Regions from separate parts of the Homo sapiens genome. Here region 2 is linked to region 1. Evidence: promoter capture Hi-C in 16 types of primary human blood cells and fetal thymus (Javierre and others, 2016). All regions are on one chromosome and are shown on one strand. The core of a region is centred on a gene start or on the middle of the fragment in contact, and the rest is flanking DNA. Distances in the headings are between cores, read along the strand shown.

Region 1 (3,325 bases), core at 784-3,283:
CACCTGTAATCCCAACACTTTGGGAGGCTGAGACGAGCAGATCACTTGAGCCCAGGAGTTTGAGACCAGCCTGGGCCACATAGCGAAACCGTGTCTCTACTAAACACCAAAAAATTAGCCAGGCATGGTGGCATGTGCCTGTCTGTAGTCTCAGCTACTCAGGAGGTTGAGGTGGGAGAATCGCTTGAGCCCTAAGGTCGAGCTGCAGTGAGCCGTGATCGCACCACTGCACTCCACTTTGTCTCAAACAAACAACAAAGAAAGATACAGAAGCCATAGTTTCTTCACCCATGCCCCTGGGCATGTCATTGTTTCCCCCAGTTTTTGCCTATTACAAATAAAACTGCTATGAACACTCATGTTCATGTCTTTGAGAGGACAAACGCTTTCATTATGCAGGAATACAATTGCTGGTCACATAAGTGTGTGTTTAACTTTTTAAGAAACTGCAAACTACTTCCCAGTCTGGCCTTTTTAATTATAGTCATTTTAGATGCACTCATTTTTTTTAACCTGTGGATCTAATAGATGGTTTCTTAGACTGTCTGGACCTCAGTGTTTTCATGTGTAAAATGGAGATAATTGGCCGGGTGCAGTGGCTCACGCCTGTAATCCCAGCACTTTAGGAGGCTGAGGCAGGCAGATCATGAGGTCAAGAGATCGAGACCATCCTGGCCAACATGGTGAAACCCCATCTCTACTGAAAGTACAAAAATTAGCTGGGCATGGTGGTGTGCACCTGTAGTCCCAGCTACTCGGGAGGCTGAGGCAGGAGAATCACATGAACCCGGGAGGCGGAGGTTGCAGTGAGTCAAGATCGTGCCACTGTACTCCAGCCTGGCAACAGAGCGAGACTCCATCTCAAAAAAGAAAGGAGATAATTACATCAGTTTTGAAAGGTAGTGAAGACAGAGTGAACTAGCACATAAGCACATATGCAGCACATAGAACAGGGACTGGGACATAGTAGGGGTTCCATAAACGGTGGGTTTTTGTTGTTGTTGTTGTTTTTGAGATGGAGTCTCGTGCAGTGTTGCAATCTCAGCTCACTGCAACCTCCGCCTCCCAGGTTCAAGTGATTCTCCTGCCTCAGCCTCCCAAGTAGCTGGGATTACAGGCACGCACCACCATGCCTGGCTAATTTTTGTATTTTTAGTGGAGACAAGGTTTCACCATGTTAGCCAGGCTGGTCTCGAACTCCTGACGTCAGGTGATCCACCTGCTTCGGCCTCCCAAAGTGCTGGATTACAGGTGTGAGCCACCAGCCTGGCCAAGGGTGATTATTTTATTACAATTGAACCACAGCCATCCTATGATCTGGCCACTTACCCCAGGATACAGCATCCTCAACTAGATGGCAAAAAGCCACTTCCTTTGCACTTAGTCAGTGCTGTTAGCCTGGAGGAATAACAATGGCACCATCGATTGTGCCAGGCACTATCCTAGGTGCTTTTGTATGTTGAATCCTTGCAAAGCCCTGTGAGGTGGGTCAGTGTTTGCCTTCTGTATGACAGATGAGAAAACTGGGATGTAGTAACTAGTCATTGGCCAAGGTCACACAGCAGTGAAGTAATGGTGCTGTGATTTGAATCTATGTAGTTTGATTTAGGATCTAGAAGTTTCGCTAATGGATTACCTAGCTCAGAACTAGTGAAAGAGCCCAGTCACAAAAGCACCTCCTGATGCCCAAAATCATTTTCAGCTCCTCAGACACAGAGCCTGAAGCAAAGATTAGGTACTGTGTGATTTATAAAGGAAAGAACCTGTAAGGGATGAAGGGAAGCAAGACAGGGAGGGAAACAAGAAAAGATGTGGTCTCAGGTAAAGTCTAGCAAAAAGGCTGGCTTTGTGTACCTCTGTACGAGTCAGCTGTTGGCTGCCAGCCACCCTGTGGGTGAGGGGAATAAACTCCAGGGTGAGGTGATTCCTGAGATGGCAGTTCTCCGTAGAAATGGAAATAGTAAGCCATTCGAAGCCAACAACTGAAGCATCTGGGGGGATGGTGTTGGTGTGCTAGCCCATGAAGGGCTCAAGAGGTTCCCAGAGGCACACTTCTTGCCTGCCTAATGAATCAAGTTCTAGAACATTCTGGAACATTCACTTCCTAGACTTGTTTTGGAGAATCCTCCTTCTCACTGAGACCAGCATGTTGAACAAACCCAGCCTGTGACATAATCAAAGCATACCTTAATTTGTATCTCCCAGTGTCCTTTCTAAGATGTATTTGGTAGAGAAACATTTTCCCTGCCACTGGGTGAAATCTCCCCATTATTCTTCTGCTTGTTCTGAGGAAACAGGCAATTCTATGGTCACTTTAGGTCACAAACACAACCTCAATTTAGAAATGAGAATGTCCAGTCAAGCTTCTAACCAAAATTCCCAATTTGATTTGGGTTTAAACCTTCTCCCCTCACCCTCAGGCCTGCTTCAGGGAGGTGGTGTGGGTGACTCCTTCTCTATCTCTCCTTCCCTCACCCACCCGTGGGGTACAGTGGGGGGTGTTGGAGATGGCAAGGGGAGAGGAAGGGTCTCCCTTGAGCTGCCACCATCCTGGCTGGCTTCAAGCTGCCCCTTTCTGTCGTGGGCTCCATGGAGATGGCCACTGTCACAGGGGCCCTCTCACTCTTAACCTTGGGGGATGCATCTCTCCTCATAGGGGTCCCTTGCAAGTCCTTCGTCAGCCCTTAGGAACCCAACATCCAACTCAAGCTTCTTGCTGCTGCCACACCTCTGCCCCTCCAGGAGGCTCTAGGGGACAGGACCCAAGAGGACCCCTTGTAGGTGCTCTCTGCCAACACTGGCCCATGGGAAACACTCCAGCCAGCAGCCTGTACTCCGAAAGTCCTGGGAATGTGGCTTACCTTAGCACGCCCACACTGGCTCCTTCACCAGTTCAGCCAGGCAGCCCGTTTCTCTCAGCCTCTAGATGTCCATGCCCACATGAGACCACTGGGCCCCCTCATAATGGCCACACATTATTCTCTACATATAGTGGCCCCTCTCATGGAAGAGCCCCCATGACCCCATTCCACCCTTCCAGGGAGATGGTCACCAAAGAACTCTTTGCTTCCTCTTCCCATCCTAGGAGAATGTGGTGGGTATAGGGGTAATAGTAAATGTGGGGGTTTTGGGTAGCCATGGCCAAATTTTAGCAGCTGTGGGTTTGGACTGGGCTCTTTTTTGTTGTTGTTGTTGTTACGTAAATTAACCCATTTATTACAGGCCAGTGATGTCTCAAAGAGTAGAGGAGCGTCTACTGGTCTTTCAACTCCTTCAGGCTTCTGATGGCGGACTTTACCGTGATAGCGGAGGTGGTATTGTATGT
Region 2 (3,243 bases), core at 699-3,198, 110 kb before region 1:
CATTTTGGGAAATTGACATAGGGTTAGCAAACCTCCCCCACCCCCATATAAAAATATTAATACTTTTTTTTTTTCTGAGATGGAGTCTGGCTCTGTCGCCAAGGCTGCAGTGCAGTAGTGCAATCTTGGCTCACTGCAACATTTGCCTCCTAGGTTGAAACGATTCTCCTCCTTCAGCCTCCCGAGTAGCTGAGATTACAGGTGCTCGCTGCCACACCCAGCTAATTTTTGTATTTTTAGTAGAGATGGGATTACACCGTGTTGGCCAGCCTGGTCTCAAACTCCTGACCTCAAGTGATCCACCTGCCTCAGCCTCCCAAACTGCTGGGATTACAGGCATGAGCCACTACACCCGACCAAGAATATTAATACTTTTTTTTAAAAAATATCGAAGTTATTTATTTATTTATTTATTTATTTATTTATTTATTTATTTTGAGATGGAGTCTCTCTCTGTTGCCCAGGCTGGAGTGCAGTGGCACGATCTTGGCTCACTGCAACCTCTGTCCCCCTGGTTCAAACGATTCTCTTGCCTCAGCCTCCCGTTTGCCACCATGCCCGGCTAATTTTTTTATTTTTGGTAGAGACGGGGTTTCACCATGTTGGTCAGGCTGGCCTCAAACTCCTGACCTCGTGATCGGTGCGCCTCGGCCTCCCAAAATGCTGGGGTTACAGGCGTGAGCCACTGCACCCGGCCCCAAAATCTAACGTTTGTTATCACTGTTGTTTTAGAAAAGAAAGGACATTTTAATGCAACCCATGCCCATCTGTAGGGGCTGAAGGTCCCTCTGAGGTGATTGATAAAGCTGAAAAAAGAGACTATGGGAAGAGAAGAGGAATATTATCAATTAGCTATTTTAGAAGCAGGGCAAACTATGAGCTAGGTATTCCTATAAGGAAATGAAATAATTTACTAAAAAACATACAGCAAGAAAATAATAGAGCTGGAGTTTTCTGATTTTTCTGAGTCCAGAATTTGTTTCACTGTTCTCATTTCAGCTCTCTCTAACAGGATGAATGACCTTGATTTCAGAATCCCCAAGCAGGTGGTGAGATCCAAAACTGAGACAAAAGAAACGGGGCTGTTCCAAAAAAAAAGCTAGGTGGCAGGTGTCTAACATGCCAGGGAGCTAAAACAGAGTGTGTGAGTTTCAGCAGCAGGTTGAATTTAGAATGGGGAAGGAGACCAGAGGAGACGCCAGACAGGATGACTTTGTCCCATTGGCCTGGAGGCAGCCCCATGTTTCTCCACCCCTCATATCACTCACCAGTTTGTAATAGTATCTTTGAATGACGATCTGATTAAGGTCCGTCTCCTCCATTAGTCCACAAGTTTCGGGGGTACATCTACTTTGCTCATTTCCATATCCCCAGAGTCTAGCACAAGGCCTGGTACATAGTAGGTGCTCAATAAATATGTTAGATGAAAGGAAGATAACACCTCTATGTACTAGCAGTGAGACTCCAGGCATGCAATTTCTCTCTGTCCTTCAGTCCCTTCATCTCAAGGTTTAATTTAAATATGGTAACGCCTGTATGCAACTCCCAGCATCCAGTAGGCACTCACTAAACACAGTTCTCCACCCTCCTTTTTTCCTCTGCCCCTCCCTCGGTTTTCCCACTACTTCCTGCATGGTGACACACCCATAGTTTGGAGCCATAAAACCCAACCCAGGTTGGACTCTCACCTCTCCAGCCCCTTCTGCTCCGGCCCTGTCCTCAAATTGGGGGGCTGATGTCCCCATACACCTGGCTCTGGGTTCCCCTAACCCCAGAGTGCAGGACTAGGACCCGAGTGGACCTCAGGTCTGGCCAGGTCGCCATTGCCATGGAGACAGCAACAGTCCCCAGCCGCGGGTTCCCTAAGTGACTGGTTACTCTTTAACGTATCCACCCACCTTGGGTGATTAGAAGAATCAATAAGATAACCGGGCGGTGGCAGCTGGCCGCACTCACCGCCTTCCTGGTGGACGGGCTCCTGGTGGCTGTGCTGCTGCTGTGAGCGGGCCCCTGCTCCTCCATGCCCCCAGCTCTCCGGCTGGGTGGGCTTGGCCATGGTCAGCGTGAACGCGCCCCTCGGGGCTCCAGTGGAGAGTTCTTACGGTAAGTGGGGCTGGGGGAAGACTGGACAGGGCGGGACTGCGGTCAGCTTTGGGAGGCCATGGGACACCTCCCCGTGTGTTTCTTACGGGCCCAAAGCTCCTCCTGGAGCTCCTCTGGAAGGGCAGGAAGCCCCACGGAGGCAATGTGACCGCTTCCCTAAGCTCTCAAGCCGGGGCATGGCCTGCTTGGTGCGAGAAGTGCTGGGAGGGGCCGAGAAGCCCTGGGGCAGAGGCTTGGCTCATTTTGTCTGTCCAGAGGCCTTCCTGGGAATGCATCTCAGGGGTCTTTCCAAAACCCCACAGAGGGTGGGGCTTGGAAGCACCGTCCTGTTTCGATGCGGGGCAAATTGAGGTCCACCAGGAGAGGCTTGCTGGGCCTAGGTCACGTTGCTGGTGCATTATCAAGCTGGGCGTGGGACCGGGCAGCTCGGTCGCTCCGCACCTCCGTTGGCTCTGGATAATGGGGAGGAGGTAGAAAGCGCCGCGCAGGGTGGAGCGTTGGAAAATGAGAATATCTTGTGCGGACGTGTGAAACTCAGATGCAGGGCTAGAAAGCATGTGTTACTGAGAGTGAAAGGCTCAGGCTCACTCCTTAGGGTGACCCCCACATTGGAAGCAACCCAATGTCCCTCAGCAGAGGGAAGACGGGTAAATAAAGCGTGAGACGTCTTTACAGTGGAATGCTATCCCATTGTTCAAGGAAACAACGCACATCTGTGTGTGACAGGGAAGAACCTCTCAGTTAAATTAAGTGAAAACGGTACACTGAAGAACTGTGTAGTTGCTGATAGCGAAACGGATATAGATGTATATATGTACACACGCGTATACGTGTACATTCCACGCATAGAAAATTCGTGGAATGACACAATAAAATTGGTGACAGGTTTGTTTCTGAGGAGGGAAATTCAAGAGAATGTTTTATCTTTTGGGGACACATTTTGGATTTTTTAAAAGTTGGGTGCCTTTTATAAACCTGTTCAAATCACACACCCGCACAGAACTTGGTCTCTGGAATCCAGCAGACCTCGGGGTCTAGTTGTGACTCTGTCACACGGCTCAACATTCACGTGCCTCTTGCTTTCTTTCTGAAGTGGAGACAGGACTAGGATGTGTCTTAAGATCATGGTGGATGCCGTGG

Evidence for each region. Contacts are between HindIII fragments. The CHiCAGO score rates a contact against its expected background, and 5 or more counts as called.
Region 2: the fragment with the promoter of HNF4A here is called in contact with the fragment with the promoter of LINC01620 in region 1 in 2 of 17 cell types (M2 macrophages and megakaryocytes); the score reaches 6.0 in M2 macrophages.

Annotation. Positions count from the first base shown.
Region 1 is chr20:44,463,311-44,466,635 of GRCh38, forward strand. It overlaps LINC01620 (long intergenic non-protein coding RNA 1620), which reads right to left and starts at 2,034. Exons shown (of 3, transcript NR_132343.1): 1 at 1,855-2,034. It also overlaps the pseudogene RPL37AP1. The HindIII fragment of the contact is 2,937 bases long and covers 1-2,361 here.
Region 2 is chr20:44,353,751-44,356,993 of GRCh38, forward strand. HNF4A (hepatocyte nuclear factor 4 alpha) reads left to right here and starts at 1,949. Exons shown (of 10, transcript NM_175914.5): 1 at 1,949-2,103. The coding sequence starts at 2,055. It overlaps R3HDML-AS1 (R3HDML antisense RNA 1), which reads right to left and starts at 1,492. Exons shown (of 4, transcript NR_184036.1): 1 at 1,269-1,492. It overlaps HNF4A-AS1 (HNF4A antisense RNA 1), which reads right to left. Exons shown (of 3, transcript NR_172878.1): 3 at 2,994-3,243. The HindIII fragment of the contact is 34,205 bases long and covers 1-3,243 here.